5 separate regions of the Homo sapiens genome follow, and all the other regions are linked to region 1. The links are contacts of gene promoters, found by promoter capture Hi-C in human tissues and cell types (Jung and others, 2019). All regions are on one chromosome and are shown on one strand. The core of a region is centred on a gene start or on the middle of the fragment in contact, and the rest is flanking DNA. Distances in the headings are between cores, read along the strand shown. Region 1 holds the start of BRINP2 (BMP/retinoic acid inducible neural specific 2). Region 2 overlaps ASTN1 (astrotactin 1). Region 3 overlaps ASTN1 (astrotactin 1). Region 4 overlaps ASTN1 (astrotactin 1). Region 5 overlaps ASTN1 (astrotactin 1).

What was found. The method cuts DNA at HindIII sites, captures the fragments that hold promoters and counts their contacts. A contact is called where the count stands out against the background at its distance.
Region 2: a contact is called between a fragment that was not itself captured here and the fragment with the promoter of BRINP2 in region 1, in 2 of the 25 tissues and cell types used here (dorsolateral prefrontal cortex and hippocampus).
Region 3: a contact is called between a fragment that was not itself captured here and the fragment with the promoter of BRINP2 in region 1, in 2 of the 25 tissues and cell types used here (dorsolateral prefrontal cortex and thymus).
Region 4: a fragment that was not itself captured here is called in contact with the fragment with the promoter of BRINP2 in region 1 in 2 of the 25 tissues and cell types used here (dorsolateral prefrontal cortex and hippocampus).
Region 5: a fragment that was not itself captured here is called in contact with the fragment with the promoter of BRINP2 in region 1 in 1 of the 25 tissues and cell types used here (dorsolateral prefrontal cortex).

What each region holds. Positions count from the first base shown.
Region 1 is chr1:177,169,442-177,172,724 of GRCh38, forward strand. BRINP2 (BMP/retinoic acid inducible neural specific 2) reads left to right here and starts at 1,517. Exons shown (of 8, transcript NM_021165.4): 1 at 1,517-2,291. RefSeq lists enhancers at 1,155-1,744, 1,745-2,333. The HindIII fragment of the contact is 8,375 bases long and covers 1-3,283 here.
Region 2 is chr1:176,976,426-176,979,708 of GRCh38, forward strand. The region is part of intron 8 of ASTN1 (astrotactin 1); the gene reads right to left. Among named protein-coding and RNA genes, the nearest start is that of MIR488, 51 kb to the right of the region's middle. The HindIII fragment of the contact is 4,223 bases long and covers 1-3,283 here.
Region 3 is chr1:176,998,606-177,001,888 of GRCh38, forward strand. All of the region lies in intron 8 of ASTN1 (astrotactin 1), which reads right to left. Among named protein-coding and RNA genes, the nearest start is that of MIR488, 29 kb to the right of the region's middle. The HindIII fragment of the contact is 4,994 bases long and covers 1-3,283 here.
Region 4 is chr1:177,019,737-177,023,019 of GRCh38, forward strand. The region is part of intron 7 of ASTN1 (astrotactin 1); the gene reads right to left. Among named protein-coding and RNA genes, the nearest start is that of MIR488, 8.1 kb to the right of the region's middle. The HindIII fragment of the contact is 4,030 bases long and covers 1-3,283 here.
Region 5 is chr1:177,036,366-177,039,648 of GRCh38, forward strand. All of the region lies in intron 2 of ASTN1 (astrotactin 1), which reads right to left. Among named protein-coding and RNA genes, the nearest start is that of MIR488, 8.6 kb to the left of the region's middle. The HindIII fragment of the contact is 5,935 bases long and covers 1-3,283 here.

The sequences.
Region 1 (3,283 bases), core at 267-2,766:
GTTCAACGTTGTATAAGATACAGAGAAGAAAATATAGGTGAAAGTGATAGATGTGTGAGTCTGAGGGGATGAATGAAGAAAATTTCTAATTTTTCTTTATTCATTCAGAACTTACGGCTACTTGATGCAGTTTAGCTAATCTCCATGTGTACTTCTTACACATTCATTAAATCTCTACATACTTTTTTTTTCTAGTTCTTTACAAAATAATCTCCGATGTTGCTCTCCATTTAAGGAAACTAAATTGAAAGACTCCTCTCGCTTTCTGACTATATATTTATCTTCTTCATACTTCCCCCACCACATGACTTAGCATGGATCTCCCAAGTTCCTTCCCCAGCTCCAGCCCCCAGCTCTTCCCTTGAATTGGATTTTTCTTCAACTATTACTCTTTTTCCTATGCTCCTGCCAAAATCTAGTTTAGTATGCTAGTTAGCGGGACATGTTTCAGTTTTGTACCCTCATTAGGATATCAAAAATATATACTTCACACTTCAATGTAAAGTTAATATTTTCTTCCCTTCTCCTTTCCTCCCTTTTCCCTCCACCTCCCTCCCTTTTTTCCTCCCTCCCTCTCTTTCAATTCACAGGCCCAGCAACAGCACCTGCTTCACAGAAACAAGGCTGGTCCTGTTCTGATTTCTCTAGTCTTCCTTTAAAAACTAAACGGAGATGCACAGTCCCTCTTCCTGACACACACAGAAGTGAAAGGAGACACACAGAGGGAAAACACCACAGGCAAAACAATTCCCTTTTTTGGAGGGACATTTTTGAAACTTAATCTCTCCCCAGAAACCTGAAGTTCTCCTCTTTGCCTTTGTCCTTACAGTCCTGGTGTGGGGGCAGAATGTTTCCTGATTTAGCTGTCCTGGCCTCTAAATCTGTTTCACTCTCTAGCCATCTTACTGGGTTCTTGCTCTCTTTTGCCTCTCTCTCCTCTTGGGTCTCTGGGGTGTGTGTGTGTGTGTGTGTGTGTGTGTGTGTGTGTACTATTTCTCACTTGGGGGCTCATTTCTAATTAAGTAATCCAAGAGGCTAAAAAATGCACAAAACAACCAAATGAAACCTCAAATTAGATGGAAAATGGCTCAGATGGGTCCCAATCTCTGGGAGTTCTAGTTAAGCAAGCAAACAAAATGGGCTGGGATAAATGATTATTGTAACTCAGGAAGATTAGAAGAAAATGTAATTAGCTCCCCAGCTACTTCTTGTTCCCCAGCCTTTTTAAGAGTGTCCAACGCCCCACCCGTGAATGTACCCAAGGCTTCCTTATACACACCAAAAAGTCCCCACTGCAACGCTGGGAGGGTTAACAGAGCTGGTACCCCAGCCTGCCAGCTCACCAAAGGAGAGAGCGGTGAGGCTCAGAGCCCGCCCCCTGCCAAGCCGCCCAGCCAATGGGCACCTGTGGGGAGTGTGGCGCTGTGTCCCATTGGCTGCCAACCTACATGCATAAGAAAGAAAGAGAGAGGCAGGCAGGGCAGCATTGTTATCTTAAGACACTCATCTGGTGTCTGAGTCTGCAGGTGACACTGCTTAGGTACGGAGCGCGGAGTCGGAGCGGGGACGCGCCGGGCTGCAGCTCTGGGATGCAATCCGCCTGCCTCGCAAGCTGCTCGCCGCTGCGCTGGCAGCGCTTACGCTGAGCTCGGAGGATCCCATTAGGACTTGCCCGGGGATGTGCACCTGCCGTGCGCTCCGAGGTCAGTGGCAGGTCTGCAGGCAGCCGAGGGAGCGGTGAAGCCGGAAGACCTGTCTCTGCCCATGTGCAAGGCAGTGATTTCGGGTGAGAGAGCGGGTGGGTGAGTCTCTTTAGAGTTGGAAAGAAGGCAAAATCTTGGGTTTCTCCTCGGCGGAGGGACAGGGGACTCCCCCAGTTGGGTCTTGCACTTCCCTTACCTCTCCCACCCCGCGTGCGCCCCGGCCCAGTGCCGAAGCCCCACTTCAAAGATGCTCTGGGAGACCGGGATCCTGGCTGCTCAGCGGGAAGGCAGCAGGCAAGTGGTCTAACGTTGGCGGCGGTGGCGGTGGCGGCGGCGGCGGCACCGACAGTAAAGCGGGGAGCAAGAGAATTTGAAAAGAGACATCCGCTCCCTCTCACACGCTGAGGGGGAGGCATTCGCGTTTCCCCAAATGAGAAAGAACCACAAGAAATCATGAAGTAAAAACTTTGGAAAGCTGCCACTGGAGATGTTGCACAAAAACCTGGAATCTTTTAGGAGTCTCCTCCCAGTCGTTGAAGGTTTGGGGAGCAGCTGATACAGCAAGGAGGGCTCTTGCAAGGATTCAAGGTAACAGTGCAGGGTTTCGGTGATTTTTCTCCCCTTTTCATTGTCCTTTTTGGTGTGTCCGTTGGTAAAGGGACCATTTTGCTCTCATACAACCCTCTTGCCCTGGTGCCTGGCAGTGGCAGGCAGAGGGAATGATGCCACCTCTCCTAGTTTCTGTCTTGTGGAGTTGAGCAATGGACTTTGGGGTTGAGCTAGAGATTGCTCTGGTATTGCCTCCTGGTGTTGCATGGCTGTCAGAGGGTTTGGGCTCCCTGCCTGACCTATATTGCTTTTGCCTGGTTTAAGTCCTCAAAGTTAGTGCAACTCCTATTAGCTTCAGAAAATTCAATAGGGCTGCATAATTGCAGAAGATGACGAGGACTTTTGCCTGCCCAGCTGACGCTGGGAGGTTCATTATGTTTGGGAAGGAGCCCAAAGAGCTGAGGTTACAATGCACGATATCTATATTATCGTGCTCATAGAGCCCTATGGCATGTTTCCCATGCACATGCAGTCAGGAAAATAAAATTCCAAACAGTGAACCCTGTAGGTTGCAAATAGTCTCCCCAGGGTGGTGGCAGAAGCCCCATTGATTGACTTGAGCCTGGCAGAGCACTGGAGACACTAGGGAAGAACATTGCTGTGCTGAAAGGTGGGATGTGCTGGTATCATCTAGCAGATCTCTGTCTCTGTTTTTGTGATCATCTGGGTACACTGTCGAATGCTGCCTGTGGTGTGTGTATGTATGTGTGCTTGTGCTCACAGCTGTATGCAGGAAACAGGCTGCCCACAGAAGAACCAAGCATGTCCAGCACCCTGTCCAAATCACGGATGCCTGGAGTGTTCCTGCCTAGTAGGAACACGAACTTGTGAGCTGTTGTTCCAGCCCAGAGGACTCTTCTCCTCACCAAGCAGTCCCTCTGCATGGTACATATTTATCCAGGGTATATAGACCTAAGCCAAATGTTAACCAATGTTCAAGCTAATGCACTGTAATGTGATTGAACAGACCC
Region 2 (3,283 bases), core at 293-2,792, 190 kb before region 1:
CAGAAAGAGCATGCTGAGAGCAGGGTCCGTCGCTGACCAACACTGACCCTGCAGTCTCCCATACAAATCACCCCAAGACAGTCTCACCATGGCTGGGGTTTTGTGGGTTAGCTCTGAAGTCAGATAGATCTCCATTCAAGTCCAAGTTCTGGATTCAAGTCTCTTGCTAACTTCATGCAACTGATACAGCTAAAGATATTTGACCTTTCCAAGCTTCAGTTTCCTTTTTCTGTAAAATGGTGATAATAGTAACTACTGTCTTCCTCCCTCCACTTCTCTCTGGTTCTGCATCTCAAGGCTCAGTTGACTTTTACCCTGGGCTCATATAGCCAAGGTCTCAAGTTCAGTGGTCCTGAAAGCTTGTTCAGCTCGCTTACTCCCGTCAATGGGCACAGTCTGCCATGTGTCCCCGGACACCCATCTTTGCTCACAAATGAACAGGACAAGAGCTTGGCAATGGACCTGTGCAAATCCATCCCTGTACAAGAAAAACAGTTTAACACATATTCACGACTGAATGTTACATCCCTGTACTAAGTACGGTGCAAACCTGGGGCCTCCTCCTCCACCACAGACGCTCACATTAAATTCCAGTGACAAGGTAGGAGAATGAACAGTACTAGCACAAGAGACAGTGAATAATAAGGGACAGGATGTACAATAGAAAACATAGCTTCCTACATTTCTGTGATTTTATGTCAGGAAAAATTGACAAAATAAGGAAACCGGGGAAGAATAAAATATCCATTAAGGAACTATATTTAGTATAGAGCTTTTATCCTTTTCCCAAAGTCTTTTTCTATCTACTAATCTGTTTAAATTCAACATATATTTAGCAAGTTTCACTATTAATTCAATCACTCATTCATTTCTTCATTTATCTGTTTACTTAAAAAATATTATCCAGTTTCCATATAAAAAAACATTTGGCTAAATACAGTCAAGGGACACAGAAATGATTAATACACATTTTCTGCTATGAAGAATGTCATTAACGCACTGATTCATTCCTCAAGTGTTTATCACTCACCTCTGATGAGACAGGTGCTATGGAGAGCACTGGGCTACACAGATAAAAGGCCGGGTCCTTGTCCTGGATCAGGAGCCGATGAAACAAGGATGGCAAGTAGAGAAACTATGGCATTTATTTTGTCAATTTTGATGATTGAACAAGTAAAAGCTATTACTTTTTATGCATTTATACTAGTCAGTGAGCCAAGTACTTTTTTTCACTTAATTCTCATAAGACCCTCTGAGGCACAGCTGTTATATTAGTCTTATTTAACAGGTGGGGAAAGTGAGGCCTAGAGAAATTAAATAACATAAGCCAAAGTCTCATAGCTAACAAGCAGCAGAGCCAGGGCTCAAGCCCAGAGCTCTCAGACACCAGAACCCTGGCAAAGACGTCTGTGAGTTATCAGTACCCACTCCTGCAGAAGAACTAAGGAGAGTCACTGGGCTGCACTGGCTGAAGGCTAATGACTTGGGGTGACATCCTCATTTCCAGGCAGGGTGGAAGAGATCGCAAGTGAAATGGGAGTGAGTGGGTTCAGAGGAAGAAGAAATCACATCCTGTTCAAGGGTCATGGAAAAGGCTCAGTCAGGAAGAGCTATTTTAGATAAGCTTTAAGCTTCGAAGGATGCACTGAGTCTAGGCATTGAAGGTGCAGAAGGAAGGGAGGTTTGCTGCAGAAATAATAGTATGACCAAAGGCATGGAGGTGGGTGGATGTGATGGAACATTACAAACAGCAAAGGTACCAGTTCATCTGAAATGTGGGATACACAGGGATGGAAAAAATAAATTAAAGCCATAACATGATGGTACCTGAAAGCAAATCTATACTTGGGTAGCGAATGGGGAGCCACTGATGGGCTTTGAATACAGGAAGATAGCACCAAGATTTTGCTTCTGTGAAAGCAAGATAAATGGGAAAGAGAAACCCAGAGGGAGAGGAACCAGTAGAGAAGCCTTTTGCAATCAAGGTAAAATGAGTACTTAGGATCTGAATTCAGTGGGAAGACGTGGATTTGGAAGAGAAGGGCAATTCTTAGGCAGAATTTCTTGGAAGATATTTTAAGCAGTGGTCGAGGAAGAGGAAATAGTGTAAGATGGCCTCAGAGTTTTGAGCTAGAAGGACTAGGAGAATGATTTTGCCATGAATAGAAACAAGTAGTTCCAGAGGATGATTTTATGTGTGTGGGGGTAAGGGGAGGGTCTAGTGGGGCAAGAAATGATAAGGTTGAACTGAAAAGGCTGAGTGTTATCTGTGAACGTCTGGCAAGGTGTGCGGCAGGTAGCTAGCTAAGCAGAGCTGACATTTAGAAGAGAGGCAAGTACAAAGATAAAGACTGGGAGTCAACATAAAGGACACAGAAACAGAAGACAGTAAAAGCAAGTCCAGTGACTGATCACTTAATATTCCTATTGTATAGATAAACTCACTGAGGCTCAGAGAGGCTGAATTGCCAAAAATCATACCTAAGAGAAATGAGGAAATATTCACTCATTTGTTCAGAAAATATGCATTCAGCAGCTGGCATGGCCAAGCTCTGTACTCTGGGGATACAGAGGTGAACAGAAGCAAAACTGATGGGGGTCTGTTAAAGGGAGTTCGTGAATATATAACCACACGTTGAGGAAAGTGCTCTGAAGAAGGGAAACAGTCCTGGAGCATGTATGGTGAAGGGGAGCCTCTCTGAGAAAGTAAGGGTTAAGCCCTGGGCTATAGGGGGATCATGGAACTTCCATGCTTTAAATCCTCACCCTGGTCATCAAGACTCCTGCATGCTCTAGCCCTTGCCTACCACACCAACCTTGCCCATTGCCTCTCTCTCCCTGTTATGATGATGTAGCAATGGTGGCTATCATCTATGATGATAAGAGCAATGGTGGCTGACAGTCCCTAGAAGGGGCCTGGCTTTCTCCCATTCCAGGGCCATCCAGGGTGCCCTAGGCCTGGAAAGCTCTTTCCCTCCCTTCTGACCTGGTTGGTCCTTTCTCATCTTTCAGTGTCAACTTAAACACACTGCCTCAGAGAGGCCCCGGTTCCCCCATTTCAGGTTAGTCCACTCCTCCCTGTCTTTTTACCCCCTTGTATTTTTCACAATCTGTAAGTACTTGTGATGTATTTATTTAGTTGTTTGTTTCAGTGACTCCCTTGCCAGAGCGTTAGTCCCTCGAGGGCAGGGACCCTGTGAGCCTTCTTGTCACTGTATTAGCAGCATGCGGCAGAGTTCAAAACACAGCAAAGCCCTCAGGAAAACAAAACAAAACAAAACAA
Region 3 (3,283 bases), core at 282-2,781, 170 kb before region 1:
AGAAAAATCAGAACACCAGGTGGAGGGCAATCCTCTAGAGGGAACTTCACCCACCCGACCGCTGTGCACACAGTGAGCTCAGCTGTCTGACTCACATTACCCCGCATTTCAAAGGAGGATGTGAGAGGGAGAGCAAGACATAAAATGGGGGCCTCTTGTCACCCACAAAACTGCTTATCCATAGAGTGTACTGCCTTCTGTGCCAGGCGGCACCGTGACGGTTTTAGTGCATGGACTCCAGTCAGAATGCCTAGGCTTGAATCCCAAATGATGCCACTTTCTATGGGTGTAACCTTTGGGCAAGGTACCAAACTTCCTTGTGCCTTAGTTTCCTACCTATAAAGAGGGGATAGCCTCACATAGTTGTGGTTAGATTAAAATATGTAGAACTCTTAGAAGTGTGCTAGGCACAGAGTAAACTGACAGTAAATTATTACCTATTATTATTGTCTTCACCTTCACTTATCAAATAAAAAACTATTGAGGGTCCTGCCATCAGAACTCCTTTTAAAGCAAGACTCTAAATGACATAAAACTACATGGCTTAGAGAAAGACAAGGCCTAAGAGACACATGGAGACTGTGGAGGCAAAATCTCAACAGCTTTGCCTTCTCCAGAGAAAGAGGATGGATCAATTCTTTAAAACAATAAAGAATCCAAAGATGTCTAGGAGCTACAATCGATTCACTAACAAGACAAAATCCCAAGCTAGGGCCATGGCCATTTATGGAGACTTCTCCAGGTTGGCACTGATGTCATCTTTGATTTTTAGAAAAGCATGCACTAACTGGTTTAGAAAATGTATTAAATGCCCCTTCTGGTCCAGACAGGATGAAATCTTTGAAATGGACTAGATGGAAATATGTTCAATGATCATCAGTATACTTGATGAATTCATGTGGAATTGAACAAGCATAGCCAAGAAGTTTTGAGTAAGGGGTTAAGTTCAACCTTCAGGAAGATCTCTAAGTGAAGCAGGGCTTGATCTTGCTTTCTTTAACAATTTTGTCAGTGACTTCGAGGTGACTGAAGGTGATATGGTTTGGCTGTGTCCCCACCCAAAATGTCATCTTGTAATTCCCAAAATACACACATGTCAGTATGGGGAGGGACCCGGTGGGAGGTAATTGAATCATGGGGGCAGTTTCCCCATATTGTTCTCGGGATAGTGAGTGGGTTCTCACAAGATTTGATGGTTTTATGTGTCTGGCATTTCCCCTGCTGGCACTTATTCTCTCTCCTGCCACTGTAAAGAGGTGCCATCCACCATGTTTATAAGATTCCTGAGGCCTCCCCAGCCATGTGGAACTGTGAGTCAATTAAACCTCTTTTTGTATAAATTACCCATGCTCAGGTATTTCTTTACAGCAGCAAGAGAATGGAGTAATACGAATGTATGTTAATTAAATTGGCAAATTACATAAAGAAGAAGGGATAGCTAATACATGGGATCACAAAGTCAAGATTCAAAGGATTTCAATGGGATAAAGCTAAAATTTAATATGATTTTATATAAGACCTATACCTAGGTTAAGAAGACAATTGACTTCAGTCTTGAATACACTTTGCCTTTTTGACAACAGTTCCTGCAGGAAAGATCTTTAATTGACCACAAACTTACTATAAGCAAACGTCATGACTTTTCTTAAAGATCCTAGCACAAGCTTAGCTTAGAATTCACTAATAGAAAATACAGGGGAAGAAACAGGCATGCCATATTTTACATAGTGATTTGAACAGTCCTGGGCAACATAGTCTAAAAGGCATAATGACAAACTAGGGACATGCAAAAGACAGCTAGTAGGATCTTTAAGAGACTCATAAAACTTATGATCTAAAGAATAGTTGAAGGAACAAGCTCTATTTAGAAGAGAAGAGCCAGCAGAGACATCATCCTATACACAATTATCTGAGACATTAACATGTAGCCAGCCTGTATATAGTGGTCCTATTTGCTCACAGACGTCTATCCCACACTTTACAGTAGATGAGTATATTTTTCTAATGCACACAAAGGTACTATATATGGCAGCAGTCCTGAGCGTAGAAGTAGGAAATCAGCATATTCTTTATTGCTCCAAAGGACGGAGCTGACCAAACAAATGCAAGTTACAGGAAAACATATTTTTGCTCAGCCTAAAGAACTGTCTAAGAATCTGCATTACAATGATGGAATGAGTTGCCTCTTCAAATAATGTAGCCCACATTACCAAGAGTGTTCAAACAGTGGTTGGGCAGCCATCTGATGAAATGGCTGTAGGAGGGATTTCTACAATGGGTGGCAGATTGGATATTATGACCTTGAGGTGGGCTTCCACCTCTATGTGTCTAGAATTGTCAGCGATTCAGCTGGTATTCCTACTCTTACTTCCTGAAATTAGGGAGGTGATTCACCACTCCATGAGATAATTTAAAGATCCAATTAGGTTCAGAAAACAGAGGTCTGTGGATGTTCTGCCCAAACCACCCCCAGACTTGGTAATACTTGAAAGGTGGTAGCTACTATTATTCTTAGGTATTGCTTATGAAAGACCATGGGAAGACAAACACATTTCTTATTTAGCAAGTACTTCTGGAACATCCACTATGTTCCAGACAGTGTATTAAGGTATGACAGTGCAATTTTACATAAGAGACATTGTTTCTGCCTTCATGGAATTTACATTCTAGAAGTAGGTTACTCTAAACTCAAATGCCAAATTGACATTAAGGTTGACATCATTTGGTGAAAGTTCAAAGAACACAAATGAGGCTGTGACCAATGCAAAGCATCATCAATGTGAACAGGCCATCACTTATTGAGTACCTACATACTTCATGTAATATTATTGAGCACAACTCATCTCATTTAGGTTTTTAAAATAATCTTTATAACAAATCTATGAAGTAGATACTATTATTCTCATTTTTAAGAAATAAGGCTCATAAAGGTTATGAGGCTAGCCAAAAACACAGGGCTTTTAAGAAGATGAAATGAGATTTGAATCCAAGTCCATCTGATTCCAAGGTTGTGTTCTTCCCATTACGTTCTGCTGCCTCTCTTAAAGATACAAATGTGAGCAGGTGAACGTTAACCCTCTTAGAAGTGAGGTGTATGCAATCTCTTGAATAAGATGAAATAGGTGGTTACTCCCACACCTGCAGGGCAGAGTGTAGGGGGTGCTATAATAATACCAGGCATGCAAAGTACAATGGCTCACTGGCATTGATGTTAATTCAACTCCTCATAGGTTTTTCCTAGTGTAGAATATGTTTCCACTTGTGACCATCCAACAATGGTGAG
Region 4 (3,283 bases), core at 531-3,030, 150 kb before region 1:
TGAAAAACAGATCAGCAAGTATTCTCCAGCTCCAGTTCTTCCATAGATTCCTGATACATCTTTGAAAAGTCTATAAATTGCACAAGGAGGATATAAAGAGGGAGCAAAACAATGCTTTTTCTTTCTATTTTTGTATTGTCTTTTTATTCTATTTATTTATTTATTTGAGACAGGGTCTCATTCTGTCACTGTGGCTGGAGTGCAATGGTGCAATCTCGGCTCACTGCAGCCTCGACCTCCCAGACTCAGGCAATCCTTTTGCCTCAGCCTCCTGAGTAGCTAGAACTACAGGTGTTGCACCACCATGCCTGTTTAATTTTTTGTATTTTTATTAGAGATGGGGTTTATGCCATGTTGTCCAGGCTGATCTTGAATTCCTGGGCTCAAGCAATCTGCCTCCCTTAGCCTCCCAAAGTGCTGGGATTATAGGTGTGAGCTGCCACGCCTGGCCTATCTTTTCTCTCCTTCCTTAGTGTATAAGTTTTCTATTCCTACAGTAAAAGCATACCACAAAGAAAGTGGTTTAAAACAACATACATTTATTATCTTACCAGAAGTTTAACATGAGTTTCACTGGGCTAAAATCAAGGCGTCTATAGAGCTATGTTGCCTTCTGGAGGCACCCGGGAGAATCTATTTTCTGTGTTCTTGCCTTTTCCAGCTTCTAGAGGCTGCTGACATTCCTTGGCTCATGCCTCCTTCCTCCATATTCAAAGTCTGTAATGGCTGCTTGAGTCCTCCTCACATCACCTCACTCTGACCTCCTTTTCTGCCTCCCTATTTCACTTCTAAGAATGCTTGTGATTACATTTTGACCACTCAGATAATCTTCCCCCCAAATCTCCCTGTTTTAAAGCCAGTTGTTTAGCAACCTCCATTCCATATGCATCACTAATTCTCCTTTGCCATGTAACGTGACACATTCACAGGTCCTGGAGATGAGAATGTGGACATTTTTGGGAGTGCATTATTGTGTCTCTCACACCTGGTGTTCTGAAGCATGGTGCAGGTGACAGGTAAACAGAGACTCACTTGGGGATGCTCTTAGGAAGGATGCCTGAGGAGAGCTCTGGCACCAGGAGGCTGCTCCTTTGCAGTGACTGAGCATCTGTGTTTGTGTGTTTGTGTGTGTGTGTGTGTAAAAGTACACAAGTGCACTGCACAGCTCCATGCATCCATATGGGCAGACCCCTCAGTATGGCTGGGAAAGCACATGTCCCAACACTATGACATTTCCAAGTAAGCTAGCTAGAGGATTTCAAAAATAACGTCGACTTGACTTGAAGCCAATTCCCACACTCAGCTCTTTGGAGAAAGGCTCTGGGATAGAGTGTGGGAGGCGATAAAGTTTCTTACTGATGAGCATGTGGGATGACCACATCACCAATGCTTTCCAATTCCAGCATTCATGAAAATGAGAGTCTTTGCAGTATTGTTTCTCAGCTGCTATCCAAAATGAAGATGCTGCACCTTAGTTTTGTCTTGGGGTTTGGGAGATTATTTTTAGTCTTCCTCTGTGTCTTTCCAATAGGAAATTCATTCATGGTCACAGACATTGAGAAGCTATTAGCAGGGGAGGGGCTTCCCAAAGTCATTTTCAGCAGGGATTAGAAATGAGACATCTGGAAGGGACTGAAGAGTTGATGGGAGAGCTTTGCTGTAGACAAGCAGCTTCCTGGCACATGGAACAGTAATGCTTAGTAATGGTTGTTTTTTAAATAGTTTTGAATGACAACTATGTTGGATCTGACATGTCTGGGGAAATTAAGCAACCTTTATAATCCCACCTTTGCAGATTTCATGATAAATAAAACACAGACTCTGCTTTAGGTAGCTGTGGGACTTTGGGCAAATCGTGTAACTTCTTAAGGAATTCAAATGTGAATGTAAAGCATAGAGGCAGTTTATCATTGAGACCCCTCCAAGCCTAAAGCACCAATCCCTTCTTTTCACATGTAACTGAAGGTGTGCTTCCTTTTCTTTAAAATCCAAGTAGGAGCATCCAAAGCTCCCCCCGGGGATCAAGCTTCTCTCAGAAGTGAGTTTAACAACTGAGATTGTCCCAAATCCTTCCAATCCAAGCCAGCTGGAGAACTAGGGTACCAGAGACTAGCTCAGTTGCATGGAGAGCCCCCACCTCTGAGATTAGCTCTTTTTAATTTCTCCCAAGCATACTAGCTTTTGGGCATGGTACACAGCCCATCTGTTTGGTTTGGTGTTTGCCTGACAGCGTGGGAGGAGCAGCAAGTAAGCACAGTCTTAGACTTCAGATGTTTAAAATGTTGTACTTTCTCCTCCATATGGGGGCCTAGAATCTCTGTGATGGGCCCACATAAAACAACTTTAACACCTAAGATGGTGAATTTTAGATGTTTCAGTTACCTGCTACTCTCCCAGAGGGATCTAGTCATAGATTATAACAGAAGTAAGGGCTAGATATCTTAGACTCATCCTCTATTAAGATCTCTCTACCTCAGCACCTGAAGAAGATGCGAGTGTGGTGGGCTGGGGTAGAGGGGGTTGGCGGGGGGTGGCTGCACATGCTGTACAAAAAGCTTCAGGGTTTGGGCCCCAACTCCAGCAACGTTTAGCTTGGGAATCTTAGATATCACTTTAACGCTTTCCTTTGCTCTAAGGGATCATACTACTTTGGGAAGGATCTATTTGTGGTACTCAATTTACCAAAAACAAGCCATCATAGAGACTACTGTAGGTGAATGTCTTCTTCAGTGAAAGTGCAAAGCAAACTGAAATAAGAGATCCATGCTCCTGGCTTTGTTGGAACCCAAGGAGCAATGGGAGAGCTCTAATTCATGCCACACTAGAATTTGAACCCTCCCTCAGGGAAACCCCAGCTCCATTTGATAGTATAACAGACTTGAAGACGTTCCTACTCTTTGACCCAGTACTCTCTCACTAAGATTTATCTGAAGAAAATAACTTCAAATGTGTCCAGCATTTATGTGTAAAGATGTTCATTTTAATAGTATTTATAAAAATAAAAATTTAAAGCATCCTAAATGTCAAATAATAGGGGACTGTTTAAATGAGCTATGATATAGACATACAACGGAATACCAAATGGCCATTAAAATTATGTGTTTGAGGATTATTTAATGATTCTGGAAAAGTTATGATGGAATGTTAAGTGAAAAAAGCAGGAGAACTCTACTAGACTTAGTATGCTTCTAGGAAGCCCTTAAAAATCATGCATAGTAAAGAGACTGGAAGGGAGGACATTAAAATTTTAAAAGTGACTTATCCAGGAGATAGAAATATTGAT
Region 5 (3,283 bases), core at 487-2,986, 130 kb before region 1:
TCAGTTACCAGGAATAAGCTTCAGCCAATAGGTAAAACTCAGCACAAGCATTTGAAAAAGGATTCTCAGGTACTCAAGTTGTGGTATGGGTTCTCTGCTTCTGTAACTCAAATTGGTGACAGATGTCAAAATACTTTGCAATGGCTTACTAATTGTGGACTATTACATAAATAATAATATACTGTAATGTGATGTGACATTAATATGTGACATTATTTAATAATATTTTGTAATAATTATTTGTAAAATCACTACACATAAATTTCTCTGAAATGCTCTACCTGCTTGAGCAGGTAGCACGTAGGAAGAAAATATAGGCCCACCACTACACTAGGAAAAGGCAGGGGTCTAGCCACTTTGGTAACTGTCCTTCTACAGTGAGGACTTGGCTCACATTCAGTTACTGTTACATTTTTCAATAAACCATAGGTCTTGGATAATTTCTTTCTTTTTTTTCTTTTTTTCTTTTTTTGAGACAGGGTCTCACTCTGTCACCCAGGCTGGAGTGCAGAGGTGTGATCTTGGCCCACTGCAACCTCCATCTCCCATGTTCAAGTGATTCTCTCACCTCAACCTCCCAAGTAGCTGGGATTACAGGCATGCACCACCATGCCTGGCTAATATTTGTATTTTTAGTAGAGACAGGGTTTGACCATGTCGGGGAGGCTGGTCTCTAACTTCTGGCTTCAAATAATCCACTTGCCTCGGCCTCCCAAAGTGGTGGGATTACAGGTATGAGGAACTGAGCCCAGCCAATTTCATTATTTTTAATCTTACTACTTTTGCAGAGAATTTTAAGCAGTTTCAGTAAATATCATGGATACTGTAGGATTTTCCTTTCAAAGAGTCTAGCGAAATGAAAAGGGGGCAGATGGAATGGAAAGAAACCCTAGGCCAAAGACTATGGCTGGAAGCATCCTGATAGCCAAGTCGAAAAGAGAAAGGCGAGATGCACATATCTCACACAGCTTATTGGGAGCAACAATTGTCCTCTGGATTCTCAGCTCCAAAAAGACCTCTACTCAACATCTGCTCATGAGCACACTGAGAAACAGAATGGGCAGTTATCACACACACAAGGCTTTACAGAGAGCATACAGAAGTTCTTCACATGCACATGTCTTGCTTTGAGTTTCTGTTTTACCCTAGCTGTGTTCAGAAAGTATTCTTCATTTATTTGTGTTAGCTCCAATTTTTATAGCCATTGGAAAAACAAAGACAAAACATTACAGTATATCTGGATTCAGGCAACAAGTAACAAGTTGTAAACTCTGAACATTAAAAAAGAAACACTGACTGTAAGCACTGGCTGCAAAACATGGAATTGCTTTGCTCATTATTCATCTTTGCATGAATTTTCTGATTATTCTATTGATTTTTTTCTCAAAACTGTTAACATTTGGTAACTAGAAGTGTGTTTGGGGTATATGAGAAACCCACATCTATTAACGAGTTCCTTGCAAAAAAATGTGGCATTTTAAAATACATTTTTCTTTTTAAAAATCAATAAATCATTTCTACTGGCTGTAATAGATACCACACAAATGAAGTCAGCTTTTATTTTATTATGAAATTGACATTTTCAGCACTTACTTAAGAGAATAGTATGAGATTTGTCAGATAATTTGTAGATTTTAGAATTTTTATGTAACAATGTGTTACATAACATTTTTGGTAATTGCCGAAGGATGGAAAATTCTAAGCAGATCTCTCCTTTATGCTTATCCCAGTCCTCTGGACCAACCACAAGACTGTCTCATTATCTGACCTGTATATTCATCCTGGGTCCTGGGTCATACCTCCCTCCTTCAGCTAACTCCTACTCATCCTTCAAAGTCAGTTCAGTGACACGACTTCAGCTAACCCTTCTCTAGTCTCACTGCACTTTCCATAGAACCCTCCACATAACTCTAACCACAAGTACATTTACCTTTGATTTTCTTGTCTATCTCATTTGCTAGACTATAGGGGGCAGGGGCCATGGGGCAGAGGCCATGTCTAATCTATCTCTTTTATAGCTCCAGGTTAAAACGCAGCGCCTGGCATAAAGCAGATGGTCAATAATTGTGGGACAGAGGAAGGAAGGGAGAGGAGAAAGAAGAAATAAAGAGGGAGGAAGGAAAGAAGGAAGGGAAGGAGGGAAGCAAAGAGGGAGGAAGAGAAGGAAGAAAAAAGGAAGAAAAGGAAGAAGCATCATCAACTTTCAATATATTTCAATATGGTCATCTTCTCTGTGCCTACAAGCTAATCTTATATAAGTCAGCTGCTTGGGTGACTCATTTATTCAATTTATTACTAAATCATTCAATAAACACTTACTGATACCTACTTTAGCAAGGCATTTTTTTTCAGTGGTCACTGTTATGAAGATAATGCGGTGAATAACACACGTATGGTTCCTGATCTCATGGAGTTTATATTTTAGTTAAAGAAATTAATCTACATAATTTGGTTTTTAAAGATAAACACAGGCATAAAAGGAAGACAAAAACAGATCACAGGTGCTGGCCCATCATTACTTCTCTTCTTCAAACCAAAGAAACTGGTAGATGAAGATATCTTGGGCTAGAGGTAATACTCTGGTAACACCCCCATGGACCAGTGGAATCCTTCTCAAATCAGTGTCACATAATCAATAAATCTTCGAATAAAAGAATCTGGATCTATTAAATGTCACCAAGTTTAGAGAGTCACCTGGGCTTTCTGAACCCTTGGCAGAGAAATGGAAAAGCTGAGATTATGCTTCCAGCTACCATCTGTCAAGAGACTACAGCCAATCAATCAGCTCACATTTCAAAGCTTACTTTTACCTTAGGAGTAAGAAGAAGAGGGAATCTGAGACAGAATTAATTACTCCTCAAGGCAACTAGACATACTGAATTCAAATTATATTCCTTGAGGAATTAAATAGTGGTTACAAAATAGGAATCACATACAAGAGTTTGGTAGCTCATGTCTCCTGTTTTGTCTAAATACCAATGACCCAAGGTCAGGGGTAAACACCCTCTCTCTGATACAGCAACAATCACTTATATGTTTTTCTGGATATCACTCATATCTTTTATAAGAGGCAGAACAAGAACAGAAAACTGTGCAAACCCACATGGAAACTCTGGGCATATCCTAATCTAGAATCAAAATGTTCCAGGGATAAGGAATGGATAAAGCAGTTGGATAACTTCTCAAGGTCCCTTCTGATCCTGTGATACTACGGAGCCTACTGGAAAACTAGACTTAAATTACTAGCAACATGAAGAACCCCAGTAAAATAACAGGGCTAAAC